4 separate regions of the Homo sapiens genome follow, and regions 2, 3 and 4 are each linked to region 1. Evidence: promoter capture Hi-C in 16 types of primary human blood cells and fetal thymus (Javierre and others, 2016). All regions are on one chromosome and are shown on one strand. Each heading gives the region's core, a stretch centred on a gene start or on the middle of the fragment in contact. The rest is flanking DNA. Distances are from core to core; before and after follow the strand shown. Region 1 holds the start of GRAMD2A (GRAM domain containing 2A). Region 2 overlaps BBS4 (Bardet-Biedl syndrome 4). Region 3 overlaps ARIH1 (ariadne RBR E3 ubiquitin protein ligase 1). Region 4 overlaps ARIH1 (ariadne RBR E3 ubiquitin protein ligase 1).

What was found. The method cuts DNA at HindIII sites, captures the fragments that hold promoters and counts their contacts. A CHiCAGO score of 5 or more calls a contact.
Region 2: a contact is called between a fragment that was not itself captured here and the fragment with the promoter of GRAMD2A in region 1, in 1 of 17 cell types (total B cells). The highest score is 5.9, in total B cells.
Region 3: a contact is called between a fragment that was not itself captured here and the fragment with the promoter of GRAMD2A in region 1, in 7 of 17 cell types (naive B cells, total B cells, total CD8 T cells and 4 more). The highest score is 7.6, in naive B cells.
Region 4: a contact is called between a fragment that was not itself captured here and the fragment with the promoter of GRAMD2A in region 1, in 1 of 17 cell types (neutrophils). The highest score is 6.2, in neutrophils.

Annotation. Positions count from the first base shown.
Region 1 is chr15:72,196,353-72,199,110 of GRCh38, forward strand. GRAMD2A (GRAM domain containing 2A) reads right to left here and starts at 1,435. Exons shown (of 12, transcript NM_001012642.3): 1 at 1,379-1,435. The coding sequence starts at 1,419. PKM (pyruvate kinase M1/2) reads right to left here. Exons shown (of 11, transcript NM_002654.6): 11 at 2,677-2,758. RefSeq lists an enhancer at 873-1,052 and a silencer at 1,163-1,582. The HindIII fragment of the contact is 8,362 bases long and covers 1-2,758 here.
Region 2 is chr15:72,696,920-72,699,677 of GRCh38, forward strand. The region is part of intron 2 of BBS4 (Bardet-Biedl syndrome 4); the gene reads left to right. Among named protein-coding and RNA genes, the nearest start is that of BBS4, 12 kb to the left of the region's middle. The HindIII fragment of the contact is 7,034 bases long and covers 1-2,758 here.
Region 3 is chr15:72,566,443-72,569,200 of GRCh38, forward strand. It overlaps ARIH1 (ariadne RBR E3 ubiquitin protein ligase 1), which reads left to right. Exons shown (of 14, transcript NM_005744.5): 8 at 121-163; 9 at 664-735. Among named protein-coding and RNA genes, the nearest start is that of MIR630, 19 kb to the right of the region's middle. The HindIII fragment of the contact is 1,583 bases long and covers 580-2,162 here.
Region 4 is chr15:72,486,292-72,489,049 of GRCh38, forward strand. All of the region lies in intron 1 of ARIH1 (ariadne RBR E3 ubiquitin protein ligase 1), which reads left to right. Among named protein-coding and RNA genes, the nearest start is that of ARIH1, 13 kb to the left of the region's middle. The HindIII fragment of the contact is 2,380 bases long and covers 175-2,554 here.

The DNA.
Region 1 (2,758 bases), core at 185-2,684:
TAAAAATACAAAAATTAGCTGGGCGTGGTGGTGGGCACCTGTAATCCCAGCTACTCGGGAGGCTGAGGCAGGAGGATCACTTGAACCTGGGAGGCAGAGGTTGCAGTGAGCCAAGATCCCACCACGGCACTCCAGCCTGGGTGACAGAGTGAAACTGTCTCAGAAAAAAAAAAAAGAAAAAAGAAGGAGGGGCATACTGACTCCTCACTGAAGAATGGGATAGACACCCTCTATTCTACCTCTCCCAGCAAGGCCATAAGTCTTTGCTCTGAAAGGAGCCAGACTTTAGAGCCGGCTACAGGTGGACATGGGGTGAAGACATCAGGTTGCGAGGGTACCCTCTCTCGTTCCCTAGGAGCCTGGCCCCTGCAAGGAGGGGCACCTTTAAACAATCAAGCATAGTGAGTGGGGCGGCAAGCAGAGCAGAGACACAGACGACAGCGGGGTGGAGCCCCACCAGTCCCTCTGAGTATAAGGCAGAGGGAGTCCCGCTGGGGTCCACATCCCTGTGTGTCTCGGGCTGATTTGGACACAAGGCTCACACATTCATCCTACCTGCCCCAGTGCTAGCTGGCCGAGGATGCCAGGCTGTACCCGACCTTAGGCTGTGCGGCTTGGAACCTGGACCGGGGCAGGAATTGACAGGTTCCCCCAAACAATGTCACTCCCAGGACCCTAAGACCTCAAGCAGCAGAAACCACAATTCTGGATGTTACGTGCAGCGCCAGCTCCTGTCTGCCCTGCCTCCTTATCCCTTTCTCCCAGGGCGACTTTGGACCAGGTCTCGAGGCCGGGAGACCGGCCCCAGCCCGCCCGACCGGGATGGGCCTGGCGCCCGGGGGAGGCCGCGTCGTGCTGAGACAGCTCCGAGCTGCCTCCCCGCAGCCGCGGGCCGCTACAATACGGATTCGGCGGCGAGAGGAAACAGTCTGGCCCTCCAGGGGACGCAGGGAAATCCAACCTTTGGGTCGGGGGCAATTAGGACTGGGAGTCGATACCGCGGGCAACGAATGATGAATGAATAAATGAAAGGATGAACAGAGTGGCGAGGCGGAGATGGGCCATGCGGGGCGTCCCGAGGAGGGTGCCCTTCCTTGCCCCGATGCTGCCGGGACCGTCCCTCATCCCCCAGGTCGCAGCAGACTCAGCCAAGACACCCGGTCCTAGTGCGAACACCTCGCGGGCCCCGGGAGACGCCTGGGCGCGCGGTGCAGCTCTGGCCCGGAGCCCGCATTCCGGCGGCCGGGAAGTGCCTGCCCCGTGGGCAGAACGCGCCGAGTTGCCGCGGCCCCAGGAGCCGTCCTGCCCCGCGCGGCAGCAGCCCCTCGCGGCGGCCTCCGGAACCCCCGAGACCGGCCCCCGGGCCGCAACCCCTTACCCGCCCTCCTCGGTGGCCTCGCTCCGGCTTAAAGCGGTCATCCCGGCGCCTGCACCCAGCGCCCCGACCGCGCGCCGGGACCCAGCGCCCGCCGGACCCCGCCCGCCCCGTCGAGAGCCCGCCCCGCCCGCCCGCCCATTGGCGGGTCGCGCGGGCCGGGCACAGCCCATTGGCCGTTCCTCCCCCTCATTCCCCAGCTTCCCCAGCTTCTCTCCTTCCCCACCTTCCCCAGGTGGGGCTCCAAGCTCTGAGCAGATCCTAGCGCTCGGTTCCCCGGACTGGGAGGTCCCGGAGGCCAGGGCCTGGCGCGGCACCTCCTGTCCCTCACGTCGAGGGTATTGTGTCCCCTCTGGACGCTTCTGTCGTCCTAGTCTTGCGGCTTGGGTCCCTCTGCAGGAACCAATTCCGGCCCCTCTCCAACCTAACCCTTCCCAACATAGAGCTCCGGATAAGTTTCAATTTTACCGTCAGTGGGGAACACCAAAGGGGATATTGAACACCATGGTCTGACAGCCAAGTCACCACCACGAACCCGGGAGCCAGGATGCTCCCACGCACTTTTGCCGGAGTTAACATTGCAGTTTCTCCAAGGAAATACACTTTTGGAGGAGTCTGCAAAGGGGCTGAAGGTGGACACAAATCAAAGGCAGGGAAGCAGAGGCACGTGCGCTCAGTGTGACAATGAGCTTTTGCCTGGCCTGCAGGCCCTTTCCTCTTCCATCCCCACCAGGACACTTGGTCCTTGGGAGTGTGGTCAGGGGAGAGGAAAAGCGCAGGCCAGATTTGGTCCCATTCCCAACTCTCTCCCCCAGCCCTTTGGCACTACAGCATCATGGTGGGAGGGCACCAGCAAACAGGAGGGGTCCCAAGGGGAGCCTAGGTCCACAACTGAGGACCTGGGAGCCAAACCCAGTCTCAGGCGCCCAGAGCTGACTCCTCCTACAGCCCCCATAAGGGATACGCTAATGCAGGAAGACCAAAGTGGAAGAACCATGGCCAAGGCCACTTTGCAATTTGGGTTTATCTACCAGAGTGGGAGGGAGGCCTTGTCCCTGCTCTTTCCCATCTTCGGTTCACGTAAGCCATTAAAGTCTCCCCGCAGCACTGAAGGGGGCAACCTGTAACCCTAAGATAGTAAGCTACTGCTTTCCCAGCGCCTCTGCACCAGGAGGTGGGCAGGATGGCAGGTGACACCACCATAGCTCCCACTGCGGGGCACGAGGCTGCAGCCATTCCCAGCCTGCTCAGAGGGCAGGGTTCAACCACCTCCCCCTCCCCAGCAGAAAAGAGAGGAAACAGGTGCTTCAGCTGTTGTTTATTGACATACAGGTAGGCTCTATAGCAACAGGCCTGGAGGTGCTGCAGTAGTGGGGGAAAATG
Region 2 (2,758 bases), core at 145-2,644, 500 kb after region 1:
TCATATAATGTTTGTTTGTTGGTTTGTTTTTGAGGCGGAGGCTCGCTCTGTCACCCAGGCTGGAGTGCAGTGGTGCAGTCTCAGCTCACTGCAACCTCCACCTCCTGGGTTCAAGTGATTCTGCTGTCTCAGCCTCCCAAGTAGCTGGGATTATCGGCATGAACCACCATGCCTGGCTAATTTTTTTATTTTTAGTACAGATGGGGTTTCACCACGTTGGCCAGGCTGGTCTTGAACTCCTGACCTCAAGTGATCCACCTGCTTTGGCCCCCCAAAGTACTGGGATTACAGGCATGAGCCACTGCATCCAGCCCAATATAGGGAGGTATTAAGAAAAGAGAAGAACTATCATCCTTAAGTATTAACGGGACTTTAACAAATTAAAAAAGTAGTACTTTGAATAAAAAGCTGTCACATTTTACTGTGAAATCCTTAGACTTTTTTTATACCTCTAGTTCAGGTTTTTTCAGCTTTGGCATGAATGATATTTTGAGCAAGATAAATCTTTGTTGGAGTTGTCCTGTATATTGTAGGATGGTTAACAACATCCCTGGCTTCTACCTGGTAGATGACAGTAGCACTTAATTGTAACAACCAAAAGTGTCTCCAGATGTTGCCAGTTATTCCTTCTGGGGCAAAATTGTTCCCACTTGAGAACCACTGCTCTGGTTAAGTAGTGTAATACTTGGAAATAGAAGGCAGAAAGTTGGTAAGTGCATAAAGAATTCACACAGAAGTTGGATTAGCAAGCTGAGAGACGTTATTTGAACAAGTAGCAATTGGAGGCATTTTGACTGAGAATGGATGTTGTGCCTCTCCCTCACTCTTTCCTCCTCAGCTTGAGAGGTCCATATTCTCTCAAAGTTTGACTCTTTAGTTTTGAGGGTGATGACTGCCAACTGTGGAAGGGATAAACAGATTTCTGTTTGGTATTTTTGTCCAAATATATCAGGACTTTTTCAAGAACAGGCAATGAAATTATTGATCAGAACTACTTGGTGGTTCTGAGAAAATAATATGCTACATGAGGCTACTGAAGTCCTCTTCCTTTTGCCCCATGATGTAACCTTAGGTGACTTTCTTCTGGCTTTCAGTTGAAGATCTTACCCATCATTGAGGTGAGCGAACTGATTTACTGCTTGAGTCTATTTTCTTCCTTAAAGGAGTCTTCATTGAAAACTTTACCCATTTTGGGGTGGCCATAGCTGAGGATGAGTTTTGTCCACAACCTGAGACAACATACTCACTATGTAAAAAACCTGATCTCAGCTTGATATCTGGTTTTAGACTAATTGTTTAATAGAATAATTTATTATTGTAAAATATATATAAAATTTACCATTTTTAAGTGTGTAAGTCAGTGGCATTAAGTACATTTACAAAGTTGTGCAGCCATCACCACTGTCCATTTCTAGAAGTGTTTCATCATTCCAAACAGAAACACTGTACCCATTAAACAATAAATCTCCACATCCCCTTGCCTCCCCAGATCCTGGTAATCTCCATTCTATTTTCTGTATCTATGAATTTGACTATTCTAGGTTTTTCATGTAAGGTGAATCATACAATATTTGCCCTTTTCTGCCTGGCTTATTCCACTCAGCATTTTCAAGATTCATTCATGTTGTAGCATGTGTCAGAATTTCATTCCTTTTTAAGGCTGAATAATATTCTAGTGTATGTATATATCACATTTTGTTTATCTGTCTGTTGATGGGCATTTGGGTTGTTTTCCTTAGAGTCTTTATATGTCAGTAATTCTTAAAGAATTTAAAAGTTGTAGAAACTAGGAATTTTGTAGATATTCTAGAAATATGTCATTTCCTGTACTGTATATAATAATTTATTCTACAGACTAATTACTGTGTATATATTTGGTTCTCAGACGTGATTTTGATTTTGTAGATGCTGTACATGCTCTTCACTTCATTAATCTTTTCCTTTTGCTAATTTTGGTTCTTGTGTATACAGAATTATAGAGTTACAAGGTAATTTAGTTGTTACCTAATTCACCCTAAAGTCTACATGAAACCACTGTCACAGTCTTTGATAAGTAGTTACCAAATCTCACTATTTCTACTGTGATAGTGAATGACTTTCATTGATTAGCTTTCTGAAAGAATAGTTTATCTTACTTGTCTTGGTATCCTCACCTCTGAGTCTATTTGTCTATTGTAATCTGGCTTTTGCTCCACCGCTCCACTGATTAAATGGATGAGCTAAGCATTTTTTTTTTTTTCCACTGCAACCTCTGCCTCCCGGGTTCAAGTGATTCTCTTGCCTCAGCTTCCCGTGTAGCTGGTATTACAGGTGCCCACCACCATGCCTGGCTAATTTTTTGTCTTTTTAGTAGAAACGGGGTTTCACTATGTTGGCCAGACTGGTATCGAGCTCCTGACTTCATGATCCACCCCAAAGCCTCCCAAAGTTCTGGGATTACAGGTGTGAGCCACCGTGCTTGGCCCAATTCTGTTTAATTTTTGAGGAACAATGTTAACTTCTAATTTAAATGGAAGGTAGTATATATCTAATTTTTCCCTATTATTTTTAATTTCAATGCTAGTAAATCTTTAAATCTGAAATACACACTCTTGAATTTTGACAGATATGTATACTCATGTACATATTTATATTCCTGTAATCATCAGATCAAATTAAACATTTTTATCACTTAGAAAGTTTCCTCATGCCTTTTTCCAGTAAGTCTTCTGCTTCACTTCGCCAGATGCAACCACCATTCTGATTTCTGCCTGTATAA
Region 3 (2,758 bases), core at 121-2,620, 370 kb after region 1:
TGCCAGTCACTAGAAACTAGTGACAATACTGTGGAACTATAAGGCATGAAATGATTGGCTTATTTACTTGCTTACAGTAGGTAGGCCTTAATTCTATTAACTCTTTGTGTCACTTAACAGCTTTAACTGTGGAGAAAATTGGCATGATCCTGTTAAATGTAAGGTGAGTTTGTCTGACATTTCAATTTTTAAATAATGGCACACTTCTAAGACTTAGTGACTAAAAATCATAGCTGATGATTTTGTTATCTATCTATTGATAGATTTTTTTTTATCCTTTTAATTTCAGATGATCATTACATGTATTCAGAGGTAATTCCTTAGGATAAGCCAAGTCAGCTCCTGATTGTTATTAGGATAACCATGGCTAAGGCACCTCTTTGTCAGGCTTTGTAATTAGGGGAATACACACCTTGCAGTTGGGCTTCTCTTCAAGCTCTAGGTTCCCCACTCAGCTTCTGCCAAAGAAAATCCTGCTTTGGTTGATTTTATATATACTGGACATTGTAGCTATGGGATTTCCCTGGCTTAAGAGGATGTGAGCCTAGTGATAATCTTATTCATTGGCTTTTACATTTAAGCTTGACTATAGTTAAGTGCTAAAGTAATTTGCTATTTTTAAAAGTCTTTTGTTGTATCCTAACCGTTGTTATTTTCAAACAGTGGTTAAAGAAATGGATTAAAAAGTGTGATGATGACAGTGAAACCTCCAATTGGATTGCAGCCAACACAAAGGTTGGTGTTTTCCTTCAGTAACTCTTGGTAATAAAAATGATAAGGATTGGTACTTTGGCATTAGCAAAAGCAATGAGGTGACCTACTTACAGGCTTTGTTTCATCTTTTTCTCCATTGAGTCTTTTTTTTTTTTTCCCAGAATGTTTGCCTGTTATTTCCTTTTTCTCTTTGAGTTTATTTTAGAGTATTGAGTACTGTAGTACAGCATCCACAGTTCTCTGCCTTAGGTTTCTTCTACTGGAAAAAAAATTAGTGTTCTGTAGAGGAAAAAGCTGATAATTTTTCAAGTGTGGGATTTGTGCTTGGCTGCCATTTAGTATACAAATGCATTGGAGTTTACTCCGCCTAGCTTGGTTCTGTTAGGCTAATTTACATTTTTGTTTCTAATTTTTTGTTTTGAAGTACATTGCTCTTGATACTAGTTTCAAAATTCAATTTCAAAATTCACTTTCTTAACCCCAGACAAATGTCTTAGAAGTGTTTAAATCTTGAGTACCCTTCTCCTCGATCACTAATCTAATGAGCAAGCATTTGAATGCCAACCGTGTACCCAGCTAGTCTTTTAATACAAAGTCGTATTATCCATCCTTTATGTAATTCAGTCCTATCCTATCCCCATAGTGAGTGACTTGGGTAATGAATGGTAGGTTGGTTCATGGGCTATTCATTTTTAGTATTATTTTGTACATGTAAAGATGATGCTTTAAAGAATGCTGAGTTGTTTGACCCATAGTATATAAAGCTATCTTTGAACTGTTGCCTCAGTCATCACAGGACAATGAGATTAAGAAGTGTGTAAACAATGAAGGCCGACGCAGGTTGTCTGTGTGTGTTTAAATATACATCTTACATACTTATATATAAAACATGAATTTATATTTCTGTCTCCCAGAAAGTAGTGAAACAGTGAATCTTGCCACATAAAACAAATGCCCAAGTCTTTAAGGAATATATGGTAGAAATTAATATTTTTTGTTCCCTCCAAAACCATCACGATAAGCATAACTCACGTCAATCAAAGAAAACCTTACTATAAATATACTGTAATGTCAGAAAGTGGTTACTTGTTTTGTTATTAAAAAAAAATTCTTAGCCAAGCATTCTTTTTTTGAAAATTGAAGATTTTCCCACAAGAAATGTTCCTTAAGTCCCAGAATTCTTTAATATGCTCTGAAAAACTAATATTTAGAATAAGGCAATTATATTTTCACTAAATTGTTTAATTAAATGGTAGCCTTTTTTCTACATCTAGAGAAATTCCTACTTGTAAGCCCCAAAGATGTTTAAAATAGGGAGTACAGGCTTGAATATGTTTGGCTTAGTTTAGATTGTAGATTACCAAGGAAGAATGGCAATTTGTAAAACAAATTTAGCTGCTCAGTATTTTTGAGAGAAAACTGAAGAGTTTTTCTCTTGAGGTTTTAGAAGCTTTTAAGATTATTAGCTCCCTAAACAGATATGCATATTGTCAGTGATATCCTAACATTTTGGAGGTTTAATACTATTAGGTTAATTATAACCAAGAAATGTAGAATGTAGAATGACGCATATTTTATGCCTGAAATTTGCTTGTTTGGAAAAAATGTAAAATTTCTTATGTGGGTGATTTCAAAAATTTGATTTGAAATATATAATTAAAAAGTTGCTATATTGGCCTATTTTAAATTGCTATCATTGATGGGCAGCATAGTCAATTTCACAAAGAAGGCCAAATTGTGCAAATACTAATATAGTGGGTGATCCCTCCTTGGGAGAGTTACAAACCTCAATCACAAATGCAAAAACAAAAAATCCATAGGCCTACAGAGCAGTAATTTTGGCTTACTAGCAACCAAGAATATGATATGAGGCCAGGTGCAGTGGCTCACACCTGTAATCCTAACACTTTGGGAGGCCGAGGTAGGCAGATTGCTTGAGCTTGAGAGATTGAGACCAACCTGGGCAACATGGTGAAACCCCACCTCAACAAAAAATTCAAAAATTAGCCGAGCATGGTGGCATGCACCTGTAGTCCCACTACTT
Region 4 (2,758 bases), core at 115-2,614, 290 kb after region 1:
TCTGAGTAGTGTGATGAAATCTCTCACCATCCCACCCAGGACGTGAATCATCCCTTTATCCAGTATATAGCAGTATATAGACTACCTACCTGCTACTGGCCTCGGCTGGTCACTTCACTGTTACCAGATTGAAAAAACATAGCATGTATAAGTTCGGTATTACCTACACTTTCAAGCTTCCACTGAGGGTCTTGGGACATGTTCCCTGAGGATGAAGGGGACTGCTGTAATGTCTCATTTGATACAGCTTGGGGTATAGTTGATGCCCAGTTAGTGTTTAAGTGATGGATAGTATGCTATCTCAGAAGGTGGCTTAAAAAATTCTTAATGCTCTCTAACATCTGCTCTGGCAAATCAGCTTTCCAGAGCCCTACTTTTTTTTTTTTTCATTTTTAAAAATGACTTTTTTTTTTTTTTTTTTTTTGAGACAGAGTCTCTGTGGCCCAGGCTGGAGTGCAGTGGCATGATCTTGGCTCACTGCAACCTCTACCTCCTGGGTTCAAGTGATTATCGTGCCTCAGCCTCCCAATTAGCTGAGATTACAGGCATGCATCACCACACCTGGCTAATTTTTGTATTTTTTGGTAGAGACAGGGTTTCACCATGTTGGCCAGGCTGGTCTCGAACTCCTGTCTTCAGGTGATCCGCCCTCCTCAGCCTCCCAAAGTGCTGAGATACAGGCATGAACCACTGTGCCCAGCCTGACAATTTTGGTTTTAAGGCCAAAAGTTTGAAGATTTAAATGAAAAATGCCAAATATTCAGGAATTTTCTCCTATTATTATTATTATTTTTTTTTGTATGTAAATATTGTTGTGTAGTATTGTTCTTTCCTTTTTTGCTCTGTTCCATTTAAAAGTGTCAGAAGTGCCCTGACAATACATTTTGGCAAAAAACAGAGCAGGTAATGAAGTATTAGGTAACATTTTCTTGTTACTGAGACATTTGCTTAGACAATGCTAAGAATAGCTATCATCCTAGACACTTCTCCCCAGGCTTGCTTTGCCATTGCCTTTGAAACTGTCATACTTATAACTCAGATATTAACTGGCTCTAATTACCTGGTAATATGTCCTCTCTCCTAATCACAATTGTACAGTGTTTTTAGGGATAAAGTGTAAACTAGAAACCGAGAAGTATTACCTGATTCTTAGCAAGTATTTATAAGTGAAAGCCTCTAATGTGGACATTTATCTTGGAATTTGTGACATTTGGACAGATATTTATCTGAAACTTACTTGAAACTCAAATTTAATACCTTCTCTCTTTGAGGCTTTTCCCCCTTTTATTGGCTTATCTGAGAACCATTCTTGGGATTTGAGTCATCCTTTTTTTTTTCCTTCATTTTCCACATCCAGTTATCCCTGATCAAGTTACCTCTGAAATTTGTTTCATGTTGTTGCTATCCTTTTTACTAACTAATCCTAGTTTAGGACCTTTTTATTTTGCCTCCTTGTCTCTGGGCTTCCAGTGTATCATTCTGTTACCAAACACAAATTTAATAGTCATCCTCCTGCTAAAAAGAGACTTTCTGTCAAAAGTCTATCCCAGACTCCTTACTATGGCATTCATGGCTTCCCCATCTTAACATAGCTAATTTTTTTCAATCTCATCTGCAGTTGTTCCTCATCCCTTATCACCCCCAGTTGCACTGTTTGTAATTCTTTACTGTGTAACACATATTTGTGTTTTCATGCTTTTGTTCATACTTGTCCCTCTTCTTTTGATACCTTTTCTTTTCTTTCTGTCTCTCTTTTTTCTTGAGACAGGGTTTTTGCTCTGTTGCTCAGGCTGGAGTGCAGTGGCACGATCACGGCTCACTACAGCCTTGAACTCCTGGGCTCAAGCGATCCTCCCACCTCAGCCTCCTGAGTAGCTGGGACTACAGTTGCATGCCACTACACCTGGCTAATTTTTTGTATTATTATTTTTATTTATTTATTTTTTGTTTGTTTGTTTTGTTTTTGGTAGAGACAATTTTTTGCCATGTTGCCTAGACTGGTCTCGACCTCCTGGACTCAAACGATCTTCCCACCTCAGCCTCCCAAAGTGTTGGGATTACAGGCATGAGCCACCGTGCCCAGCTCTCTTTCTCTTCTTAACTGCCTGATATATTCCTATTGAGAATCTGCCAGGCTGGCTGCGGTGGCTCATCTCCTTTCAGGTTCTTCTCTACCTTTCCTGTGCTTCCTTATCTATGTTTGAATAGTGCTTCATATGGATATTTGGTATAGCCTATAAGAGGTTATGATATAGCTATCCCTATATCCAAGCCTCTAGCTATATATGAGGGTTTTGAAGGTGAGAACTAAAACTCCTTCATCTTTGTGTTCATAGCAGAGTTTCTTCTCTGACAGAAGAAACTCAGTAAATATTTGTTGAAGTTTGTCCTTGCCTAGTAAATGCTTGCTTTCTCAGTTTCCTTGTGGTAAACCAAAGGGATCCAGACAAGATTTTCTTCTGGCACTAACAAATTATTTTATGATTTCTAGATAATGCCAAAGTGGTAGTGTAAGAAGATGGCAAGGAAGAAATGTTTGAATTCCAAGAGGACAAGCTTCTTAAGGTCCCTGAATATTCAACCTTTTAGGTGAAGCTTTATTATTTGCGTATAGTTCCCTGGCGCTGGGTGTGAACTGACACAGTGATGATGTTAAAGACAGTGGAATCACCCAGGTGCAGTGGCTCACGCCTGCAATCCCACAACTTTGGGAGGTTGAGGCCAGAGGATTACTTGAGTCCAGGAGTTTGAGACCAGC